4 separate regions of the Homo sapiens genome follow, and regions 1, 2 and 4 are each linked to region 3. The links are contacts of gene promoters, found by promoter capture Hi-C in human tissues and cell types (Jung and others, 2019). All regions are on one chromosome and are shown on one strand. The core of a region is centred on a gene start or on the middle of the fragment in contact, and the rest is flanking DNA. Distances in the headings are between cores, read along the strand shown. Region 1 overlaps L3MBTL4 (L3MBTL histone methyl-lysine binding protein 4). Region 2 overlaps L3MBTL4 (L3MBTL histone methyl-lysine binding protein 4). Region 3 holds the start of L3MBTL4 (L3MBTL histone methyl-lysine binding protein 4). Region 4 overlaps L3MBTL4 (L3MBTL histone methyl-lysine binding protein 4).

The links. Contacts are between HindIII fragments. The study calls those that stand out against the background at their distance.
Region 1: a contact is called between a fragment that was not itself captured here and the fragment with the promoter of L3MBTL4 in region 3, in 2 of the 25 tissues and cell types used here (heart left ventricle and lymphoblastoid cells).
Region 2: a fragment that was not itself captured here is called in contact with the fragment with the promoter of L3MBTL4 in region 3 in 2 of the 25 tissues and cell types used here (lymphoblastoid cells and small bowel).
Region 4: a contact is called between a fragment that was not itself captured here and the fragment with the promoter of L3MBTL4 in region 3, in 1 of the 25 tissues and cell types used here (lymphoblastoid cells).

What each region holds. Positions count from the first base shown.
Region 1 is chr18:6,240,287-6,243,114 of GRCh38, forward strand. It overlaps L3MBTL4 (L3MBTL histone methyl-lysine binding protein 4), which reads right to left. Exons shown (of 19, transcript NM_001330559.2): 8 at 1,072-1,163. Among named protein-coding and RNA genes, the nearest start is that of L3MBTL4-AS1, 15 kb to the right of the region's middle. The HindIII fragment of the contact is 6,749 bases long and covers 1-2,828 here.
Region 2 is chr18:6,282,659-6,285,522 of GRCh38, forward strand. The region is part of intron 4 of L3MBTL4 (L3MBTL histone methyl-lysine binding protein 4); the gene reads right to left. Among named protein-coding and RNA genes, the nearest start is that of L3MBTL4-AS1, 27 kb to the left of the region's middle. The HindIII fragment of the contact is 4,673 bases long and covers 1-2,864 here.
Region 3 is chr18:6,413,592-6,416,320 of GRCh38, forward strand. It overlaps L3MBTL4 (L3MBTL histone methyl-lysine binding protein 4), which reads right to left and starts at 1,320. Exons shown (of 19, transcript NM_001330559.2): 1 at 1,210-1,320. RefSeq lists a silencer at 823-1,362. The HindIII fragment of the contact is 7,728 bases long and covers 1-2,729 here.
Region 4 is chr18:6,258,737-6,261,551 of GRCh38, forward strand. All of the region lies in intron 5 of L3MBTL4 (L3MBTL histone methyl-lysine binding protein 4), which reads right to left. It overlaps L3MBTL4-AS1 (L3MBTL4 antisense RNA 1), which reads left to right. Exons shown (of 3, transcript NR_110765.1): 2 at 1-60; 3 at 424-2,198. Among named protein-coding and RNA genes, the nearest start is that of L3MBTL4-AS1, 3.4 kb to the left of the region's middle. The HindIII fragment of the contact is 5,812 bases long and covers 1-2,815 here.

The sequences.
Region 1 (2,828 bases), core at 54-2,553, 170 kb before region 3:
TAATTAGCACCAAAGTATCCTGTTAATTTGATTACTCAATCTGAAAATAAGTGGCTTTTTCAATATTTAAGAAATACATGCTTAAATAAAATTATAATTTAAAATGTGTATTTATATATAATTTATATATATTTAACATATAATTTAAATTTATAATTTTAAAATGTGAGTGCTTTTTTACTATCTGTGCTTTTCTTAGTATAAAAATACTATGAACTATGATTTACAATAACATAACAATTACAAACCCACCCTTCATATATCTATAATTAGCCAATCCTGGGATTTAGGGAGTACATACAGTATCCGGGAACTGAAAGAGGGTGTTTTTCTCTACTTCTCTTTCATCAAACCCTGATTTTTATTCTCCTTCAGCACATTCTATTTTTACAGCAACTTCACGTTTTAATAGCTCCTTTTCTTGATACAAATCTAGGAAACATATTTAACGATTGTATAACACTGCTTTCAAGATCACAGAAGTGATGTCTGGAGAAATTCAGTGAGTGGCCTGCACAGTGACACCGCCTGCCAGTGGCAGAGCCGACTTCTGGAGTTGCAATTTATTCTCCTCCACTGAAGGTTCACTAGATTTCTGGGGACACGGATGGCATAAGAAGTGTGATCTACCCAGATCCGCAGAACACCCCTTCAATTAGTACAAAATGTTACTCTCATTTTCATTACACTTAAATATATCTAGGCTGGGTACATTCAAAGCCTACTTAGAGTATCTGCTGGTTTCAAAACACCAAAAGCAAGATTAAAGGATTAACTCCCTGTAAGGGAAAACATTTTTAAAAGACACTTTCAATTTTAGTAGGCTTTAAACATAAAGTTTTTAAGTTTTCCCAACTTTTTCTCATCTAATTGAAGTATTTAATTATACTTTTAAAGGAAGAAAACCAAGATATGCCCACAAGAAACTGACGAATTAGGTGAGAAAAGTGACAGGAAGTTAACAGTTTCCATAACTTCTTAAAGGATTAAAATAAAACAGAATATATAGTGAATTTTAAGAAATTTAAGCTTGGGGGAAATTTGATTTATGCTGGGAAAGAAAATACTTACAGGACTTCTGTTTCTGAATAATTTCTTTGGAGCATTTTGCAATTTGCAGGCCTTCAAGTAATCCATCCAAACAAATTTATCTTTTCTATAACCTAAAAAAAGCACAGATTACTCAAAATACCCAAAAGATGTAATCACATGCATATTAAATATATTAGGTTGGTGCAAAAGTAAGTGCGGTTTTGGCCATTACTTTTAATGGAAAAAAAACGCAATTACTTTTGCACCAACCTCATATGGTTATTATTAGTGTCCTGCCATAAATTCAACGTCCTTAGCACCCACAAAAGATTTAAATTAAAATCTCCAAATTGTTTCACCTTTTTAAAATGTATTATGTGCAAAACTGTTGATAGTGCTTCCCCATCACGCGCATCATTCCCGATACAATTTCACATGCTCTGATACGGAGTCAGTACTCTGGTGGCCTGATGGGAGTCTCATCGCCCATTAAGGCTTTCCTGAATGGGCAAAGGGATGAGACCAGAGTTCCCGTACCTGTCCCCACTCCTGAGGAAGAGACTTTACAGAGACCATCAGAGGTCCTGAGGGTGCAGCCATCCAGGATGCCAGGCACAGAAACGCCTTCTCAATCCAATGCCCACTCCACAGCTCCAGCTTTCTGCGCCGCATCTTTACTAGTCTCCCATTAAAAACTGCTGCATCCTCCCATTCGCATGCCCTGGCGTGGCTCTCACACAGTGCTGGCCAAACAGTACAGGCTCAAAATATGGTTCTGAGCACCAGCCTTGGAACAGAAGTCAAACTCCCTGCACAGCCTTCCAGGCCTGGGAACACCACCCTCTTCGTCCCCGACCTTCCCACCTGGGCGCTTCTCTGCTGTCTCCCTGAGATGACTCATCCTCGCAAAGCGCACTCCTGCCCCGGCGCCTGCTCCTGTTCTTCCCTTGGAGGGCTTACCCAGACACCACACTGCTTCCTCTGTCATTTCACCCACGTCTCTTTGGAACATTATGTCCACAGAGAGGCCTTTCTCCCCCATGCTTTCTGAAAGAGTGTCCCTGCAGCCACCGCCATTATCCTTCTCCTCTGAAATGAAGCCCCGTGGAGATAGAGACATTGCTTTACTTGCTACTGGCCCTCAGTGCCTCACGTGGTAAGGGCTCCATAAATACCTACTGAATGAATGAGCCTGTAGCCTGTCACCAGCTTCCTCCAAACCAGCAACCTCAAGGACTCTGCCATCAGCCTCAGGGGAGGATCCCAAGGGACACCCTGAGTGGATAACTAGGAATAAAGGACTGTATACTGACTCCAGAAGTTGCCACAGACATCGAACAGTCTGACATCCAAGCCAGAGACAATGTACAGAAGTTTGCTGTGCAAAGATATGAGCCCGTCAGCATCATCCTTGACCACATCCCCACCTCACTTGCACACAGCAAATCGAAAAGGTTTTGGTCACATCTGCCTGGCCCAGACTCCTCTAGCACATAACAAAACCATGATATTTTTCATTCCCATCGAAAGAAAATAGTGATTTTTTTCATAGTTCTTTGTTTTCCGTGATTCCTAAGTCTGAAACAAATTACTTACAGTGAATCAAGTTTCCTCACCTTGCTGTATCATTGATTAGATATTTTGTTTCAACCATGATTTAAATATTAGTCTGCACTGCTTATAAGGTTTAATAAACTTTATATAAAATAAAATAAAATGCTTTCATAATATTTTATTTCTGCCTTCTGTACATTATCAGAATATTTGACCTAAATAGTCATTTATGCTTTTCTTTA
Region 2 (2,864 bases), core at 143-2,642, 130 kb before region 3:
GAAGCACTGGAAAGGTTTTAAGCAAAGGAAAGGTAGGCAGGTGGACAGGATCAGGCTCATGTACTGAAAAGAACAATGCAGCTGGCATTGTGCACCTGGATTAGGGAGTACCAAGAGCAGGCCTGGGGAGATCAACTGCGAAGTCCAAGCACGGGGTGACAGCTTGGACTCAAGTGGCACAGGGAAGACGAAAATAAGTGGACAGATGAGAAATGTTCCAGAAACAGAAGCAACAGCCTCCCTTGTCAGATTGCCCAAGGGAAGTAAAAAAAGAAAAAGGTCCCTTGAACCTCCAGGCAGCCCCTGAGGTCCTGGCTTGTGCTGCTGATGGGCAGTGCATTCACTGATCTTGGGAGCAACGCCTCCTCTCCAAGACCCACAGGTACAGGCTTTCCTAAGATGAGAGTGACGTTAAATCCAGCATGTAAGAGCCCTTTCATCCCAAAATAATTAACACATTTCTCATGCTTTCTGAAAGTTTGTATATTTTTATAATCCTATATATCTGTTAAATCTGTTCAACTTACTAAAGGCCAAGCACATGCCTCTGTCATTTTCCCATGCTCTTCACTTTCATCAGGACAGTCACAAACTATTGGCAAAAATCTATTTTCACTTAAAGTGCTTTTTGAAAAAGTTATTTTCTACACATAGCTACATCCCAAAGAGGCTTCAGGAAAGGCTTGTGAGAAACATATTGTACTATTTCTGGTTATGTAAGAAAAGAAAAACCAAATGAGTTTTTAAAGGTTTAGACTTCAACTCTGACTACTCCTCAAAGAAAAATAAGTTCTTTCCTAAGCAGGATAAAAATACTAAAGGAAATATTATTTAATTTAATTAAAACTATTTAATTCTCTAAATAGTTTTAAAAACAGTCCTATAGGAACCTCCTAAGCAAAATATGAGCATCTACACCAAAAAGAGCCTCAAAGTTATTTTAAAAATGAATAAATTCCCTATTTAAGCTGTTCCAAAAAATACCATTTATTAGTATCTCCCTAGAGTCAAACACATTACAAACATTTTCTCATTTAATCTTGACAATTTTATGGGGTAAGATATATTATCTATTACTCCCATTTCACAAGCAAGAGAATTGAGGCTTGGAAAAGCTAAGTATAATCACTTGTTGAAAGCCACAACATGCCAATTAAGTGGCAAAACCAAAATTCAGACAAGGTCTGTTTGATTCTAAGCACACACACTCTACACTTCCTTTCAAATATAAAAAGAAGTCACTCTTCAGAAGGAATAACTAAAAGTTCAGATTTCTAAAAGGTAAGATTTCTAAAAGACAAAACCACAGCTAAATAACCAAAGTCTGGGCGATCATTCTCTACGTATGTGGCCGGCAGCCACGCACTGGCCTAAACATTAGGGAAATTTCTGTGTATTGCACTATAATGCTTTAATTGTGAGTTAGATGCTGTCTTAGGGGAAAATCTTTGTTGTTGTTGTTTGGTATCATTCAATTATGCATACGAAGTCAGGAGAAAAATAAGATTCCAGGAGTGAACATTCATTTCCAAGTGAATTTTTAAGGAATTAGTCTATTCTACAAAGTGAGCTACCATACAAATACAGCTCCGTGCTTACACGCTGAAATAACAGCAATTTAGCAAAACAGCAAAGCCACATCACCAATTCCTATCTCCTTCCTGCTGCAGAGGGAAATCCACAGGGGCTCTCACGGAGCCCACATGTCAGACCCACCCGGGCGTCGAGACTCAAAACACGACCATCACATGGCTGTCCCTCCTGGGAAAGTCGAAGCCAAAGACGAGGCCAAGCAAAAGGGCCGGGAGGAGGAAAGGGCCCGCAGCTCAGCTCAGCCGGGCGAGGCGGGAGGCAGGCACTCAGCTCCCTCGCTGGCTCCCACACCGCCGCAGCGCCGCCACCTTGGAGGGGACGCACTGGCCGGCTGCGCACGCAGGCTGTTCCCAAGCCCCCGGTCGCTTTTCTTCCACATCAGGCTCTCCTCCATGTCATCTGTGCCCTTCTTCAGGGCAGTATCCTATTCTGCCTCATCCTCTCGGCCTTCTCCTTTCCCTTCTCTTTCCCTCCTGAGCAATTCTATGATCCCATGCTGAAGCCACTCTGTGCAACAGAGCAAGGTGGGAGGACATGGGTGGAGGCAGCTAGAGCGACCTTGGCCTCGAGCCCGCTGGAGGAGCCCAAACTGGTAGGAGGGCATCTGCACAGGGGCCGCCCAGCGTGGGCAGTCGGAGCCCGGAACGGGGAGGGAAAACATCCACAAGTTGGGGAGTAGGCACAGGCCTCAGAGCCTGGCAGGGCAGCCTGGCATGGGCGGGGGCGGGAATGAACCCTAAACAAGGCGTTGAGGGCACCCACCTGGAGGCTGACCCAGCGAGGGGAGTCCAGTTTCCGGAGGGCGTCGAGAGGACGGCTTCTGCGGGGCAGCCTGGTGCGGTATTAACGCCCACTCAGGGCGAGGAGGCGTCCGCAGAGGGGTGGCCTCTGCCAGCTCTTGGAGCAAAGGAGCTTGAAGATGACATCCACAGGGAGGCAGCCGGATGGTGGAGCCCACGTGGGATGAGGTGGCCATGGATGCCAGGGAGGGGTTGGTGGCAGCACTGAAGGATGGTGGGGGCACTGAACAAATAAGCAACTATACAACTAAGGGGAACAGAGCCACGTTTCTCACTGGCAAAGACTGGGATTCAAATATACAAAGAGGGAGAACTGTTACTAGAATGAATCCTGTGGGATGGGACTGGAATTGGAGGTATCACTGTTAATTCCGATTTCCATGTGAGATTTCAATATATAGAGATGCACCTATATTAAAATAGTGCTATAAAGTGTGTGTGTGTGTGTGTATAGCAATTTGTAAGTATATG
Region 3 (2,729 bases), core at 70-2,569:
CCACACTACACTTATTTCAGCCAAGGACTGAAACTGGAGCCTGCCACAAGCATCTTCTAGAACAGCTCCAACAGAAGGATCCAGGAGATGGGCCACCAGCAAGTCATAGTGGAGTCCAAACAAGTGTGAAGTGAGAGCGAGTCTTCAGCATGGGAATGGCCGAGTGGGTCGTGGTGACCAGCTGCCTTCCTCTGACTGTTAAGTACAGCAGTCTCAACAGTAACAATGACCAGGCCTTCCCTTTATTTAGTTCCACCTCGGGGCATTGGCGCATTAAGAATGTCCCTCTAAAGGCATATGTAAGATAAAGCACACTTCGCACTTTAACCAGTGACTAAGGGAGATCAAAAGCAGGGGACAATACCCACCCGGAATTTGCGACCTCGCGAAAACGCTCTCACCAATCCCGCAGGTAAGTGCGGCGCTGGCCCAGGTGTGCCCAGCTCGACTCGCGTCCACCTGGGACCAAGCGGGCCCAAGAAGGCCCGGAGAGCAGGCGAGGGCGACTGTGGCCGGCGCGCCCCCCGCAGTTCCAGGCGGTGGCAGGAGCCTGAGAGCCGCCGTCCCAGGCTGGCCAGGCGCCCGCCCGCCCTGCGCGCACTCCCTGGGCTCCCGCTCCCGAGGCTGGGCAGAACTCGCAGAGGAAGACAAGGGCAGAAAGCGGGTGGAGGGAGGCAGCGCTCGCCCGTCCGGGCACACGACACTTGTCGGCTGAGGGGGACACGCGGGCAGACGGGGGCGTTAGCCCCAGAGGAAACAAAAGCCAAATGCCCACCGCCGGGCGCTCGATGGCCGGAGGACTGCCTGGGGGCCCTCAGGAGTCCCGTCCCGTCCCGCTCCCCCGGTCCCAGGCTGCGCTGGCTCCAGGGCGCCCAGGTAGCCGCGCCTGGCACCCCGACCCTGCCCTCGCGGCTGACCGAGGCGCCGGGCTCTGCGGCGGCCGCGCCCGTCCAAAGTAGGCGACAAGTGAGGCAGCGCCTCTCGCGGGGAGCCCGGCGCGCGCCCCGGCGGCGAAAGAGAAAGAGAAAGAGCCTGGGCCGGGACCGGGGCTATCCCCAACCGCCACCGCCCCCACCGGCCCGGCCCTCGCCGCGGGAGTCGTGCAGGCCCCTCTACCTGCCCGGGGATGGGGCCACCCCGCGCGGCGGCGGCCGTGGGCACCCACGCGGGCTCGCGACCATCCCACGCGGGCGGCGGCGTCCTTCTTACCCCCAGCGGAGCGGCGCCTGCCCGCAACGCCGACCGAGCTACAGGCGGGGGGCGAGTCGGAGCGCGAGGTTCCGCCAGCCCAGGCTGCGGCGCCGCTGCCCCGCGGTGCCCGGCGGGAGGGGCGCGAGGGTGCACGCGCGGGGTGGGGGCGCGGGAGCCGCCCCCTGCCCGCCCCGCGCGCATGCTCCCGCCGCACCTGCCTCGCTCAGTGTTCCACACCCCGGGGAGCCGGGTGGCGCTGGGCCCGCCGAGGTCGGGGCTTTCCCATGGGAGGGAGGTGGCTGCGGCGGAATTTTCAGATGCGTCCTTCTCTGTATTCGTTCCCTGGGAAGGATTCCCCCAAATCTTGGCTACTTCCTGCCTGCCAGCTTGCTCCCTGGCAGCGAAGTCCCAGTAGCTCACCCATGCTTCATCCCAGCTCTTGGGGTTCACCGTCTGAAGGCTCTCTCCTCCGGATCCCTCTCGGTCCTGCTGCTCGCTCCGATTTTGCAACCTCCCCCACTCCCCTTTCCTGCTCTTGACTTTGCTACTCACGAGTACCTGGATACCATTTCCAAATAAAAGAATACTCTTTCCAAGTGGCAAGCAGTGTTTACTGACCCTGTTCTAACTGCTTGGAATTGAGCAGGAAACAGGAGCTGGGTAGATCCTGCCCTCATGGAACTTATGGCCTTACTGGCTAGCTTTGGCCTTTCTCAAAGCATTGTCTCCCAGTTTGGGAGGACTGTATTAAATCATTTATTTTGGCTTACAAATAAAGGTAGCTGATAATTGAAGACTATATGTTGTGACTTTTGAATGAAATGTTCTTTCATAGGACGCCTTGTGTATAAACCCTAGTATGCAAATAATAAATAGTAGGTACTAAATAAGTATTAGTTTGTTGCTTTCAGCAGGAAATTGAATCATTTAGCAGGATTAACAATGATACCATCCAAAATGATCTTTTTGGTTTGTCGTGGGCTACCATAAACAGAGAATGAAAACTTGCTTTTTAGGTGAGACTGGGCATTGTTGAAACATAATTTCGTGTCCTTACTGAAAAGAGAAATATAAACCCCTTTGCTAATGAAGTTTTTAAACTAGGAACAATGATCATAGAAATTTGTAAGTGCAAACACACGATTTGTGTTCTGTGCTCTAGTCAGTTAAGAAAAATATATTAGCCAGGTATGGCGGCTCACATCTGTAATCCCAGCACTTTGGGAGGCCGAAGAGGGCGGATCACTTGAGGTCAGGAGTTCGAGACCAGCCTGGCCAACATGGTGAAACCCTGTCTCTACTAAAAATACGAAATTAGCTGGGTGTGGTGGCGGGCGCCTGTAATCTCAACTACTCGGGAGGCTGAGACACTAGAATCGCTTGAACCTGGGAGGCAGAGGCTCCAGTGAGCTGAGATAGTACCACTGCACTCCAGCCTGGGCAACAGAGCGAAACTCCAACTCAAAAAAAAAAAAAAGAAGAAGAAAAAGAAAAACAAAAAGAAAAAGATATTAGAGACAAAGAGAAAAAGAAAGAAG
Region 4 (2,815 bases), core at 52-2,551, 150 kb before region 3:
GAGGCACCCAAGGTCTTAGGAGGTGGATGGACTGTCACATGGGCAAAGAAATGTCCCAGGGTGAGAACGGGACTGGGTGGGAGAGGGTGGAGGAGGGGAGAGAGCAGAGGGAGGTGAACAGTGTGAGCAGACACACATGCACACACACCCTATTGAGGCAGCAAGAGTGGAAATAGCAGTGTTACGACTGCATAAATCACCAAGAAGGGAGGGTTGGGCATGCAAGTAGAAATAGGGTAAGAAAGGAGTGGTTGGGAGCTGGAGTAGGCTAGGCCTGCCTGCACCCAGAGGGAGAAGTGGACGTGGCACAGGGGCACCCAGGAGGCAGAGTGCCCGGGGGGAAGCAGGTGTGCACCTGGCCACAGGGAGGAGGGAATGACGTGTTGAGCTCTTGGGAAAATTGCATAATTTGTTTTACCACAGGCAGGACTGCAAAGGCCACAGAAGAATAATTTGGGAGAGAGACAACCCATGAGAAGTCACTCAGACCAGGGTCAGAAACAGAACAGGAACAACAATGGAAAGAGGATGACACCATTGATGGGCACCTAGGTCAATTCAATGTCTTTGCTATAGTGAATAGTGCTGCAATGAACATGCAACTCCATGTGCCTTTCTTTCTCTGCAGCCTTGCAAGTATCTGTTGTTTTTTGACTTTATAATAATAAGCATTCTGGCTTGTGTGAGATGGTATCTCGTTGTGGTTTTAATTTGCATTTCTCTGATGATTAGTGATGTTGAGCATTTTTTTATGTTTGTTGGCCACTTGTATGTCTTCTTTTGAGAAGTGTCTGTTCATGTCTTTTGCCCATTTTTTATTTTTTACTTTTTCTTCTTTTTTCTTCTCCTTTCTCCTTCTCCATCTCCTTCATTCTTCTTTTGCCCATTTTTAATGGGTTAATTGGTTTTTGCTTATTGAATCTAGTTCCTTATAGATTCTGGATATATTAGATCTTTGTCATCTGCATAGTTTGTGAATATTTTCTCCCATTCTGTAGGTTGTCTCTTTACTCTGTTGATGGTTTCTTTTGCTGTGCAGAAGCCCTTTAGTTTAATTAGGTCTCAGTTGTCAAATTTTGTTTTTGCTGTAATTGCTTTTGAGGATTTAGTCATAAATTCTTTCTCAAGACCAATGCTGAGAATGGTGTCTCCTAGGTTTTCTTTTAGAACTCTTATAGTTTGAGGTCTTACATTTAAATTATTAATTCATCTTGATTTAGTTTTTGTATATGGTGAAAGGTAGGGGGTCTAGTTTTAATCTTCTGTATATGGCTAGCCAGCTATCCCAGCACCATTTATTGAATAGGGAGTCCTTTCCCCATTGCTTTTTTTCTGTCAGCTTTGTCAAAGATAAGATGGCTGTACATGTGCAGCTTTATTTCTGGGCTCTTTATTCTGTTCCATTGTTCTATGTATGTGTTTTTGTACCAGTACCATGCTGTTTGGTTTCTGTAGCCTTGCAGTATAGTCTGAAGTCAGGTAATACGATGCTTTGTTATTTTTGCTTAGGATTGCTTTCACTATTTGGGCTCTTTTTTAGTTCCTTGTGAATTTTAGAGTAAGTTTTTTTGGTTCTGTGAAAAATGACATTGGTAGTTTGATAGGAATAATGTTTAATCTATAGATTGCTTTGGGGAGTATGGCCACCTTAATGATATTGATTCTTCCCACCCATGAGCATGGAATGTTTTTCCAGTTGTTTATATGTCATCTTTGATTTCTTTTAGCCGTGTTTTGTAGTTCTCCTTGAAAAGATCTTTCACCTTCTTGGTTAAATGTATTCCTAGATATTTTTCTCTGTGTGTGCCTATTGTAATTGGGATTGTGTTCTTGATTTTCTCTCAGCTTGAACATTATTGGTGTATAGAAATGCTACTGACTTTTGTACACTGATTTTGTATCCTGAAACTTTACTGAATTCATTTATCAGTCCCAGGAGCCTTTTGGCAGAATCTTTAGGGTTTTCTAAGCATAGAATTAAGTTTTATTTTCAACATTTCGGTGTCAAAAGCTGAAGCGTTCCATCTCAGCTGGCTGACCTGAACAACATTATACTAATATTTACACAATGAAAATGAACATTAATAGTCAAAAACACAATGTCAATATAAAATTGAGTTTAGTCTGATGCTCCTTCTTGGAAAGCTGACATGAACCATCTGCCTTTTTGATTATATTAAAACCTATTTTTAACTATAGACAATGCTTATTTCATCTGAAAATACAAATTCAAGTTAGAGTAACACTGTGATCTTGAACACAAGCATCTTCTTTAGTTATTAGGGCAAATCAGACGGAATAATTGGTGAGCTTAATTCTCTCTGCATTCAGGGTCGAATGAGGTCTCATCTCACACATGGAATTCCTCATAAATTCATTACTTGTGGGCAATTAACATTCTACCTCAGATTGTTGCTGTGTTATTATGGGCATATCATATCCCAACTAGCCCACAAGATCCTAAGACACCATGTCATACGTTCTTTAGTGTTTTGGCCAGTCTTACATGGCACTTTGCACACACAGAGTCTTAAACACGTGGGCAGCTTGAGTGTTAGATTATGACTGGAGAGAAAGGCAGTCCAACATGTCAAACATGTCTGTTTTCTCACACACTAACACTTTGCTGTTACTTTCAGAGATGACAAATATTAGAGTTCAAAAGCTTGAGAAAGTCCTTAGCCAAAGAATCATCAAAGGGTGCATCACCTGCTCACCACCCGCCTCCTTCAAAGAGTCTCTCCAACTCTCTCCACCCTGCCAAGGGGGCCCACTCCTGTCTGTATGTCCCACAACGTTGTGCCCCTCCCACTTA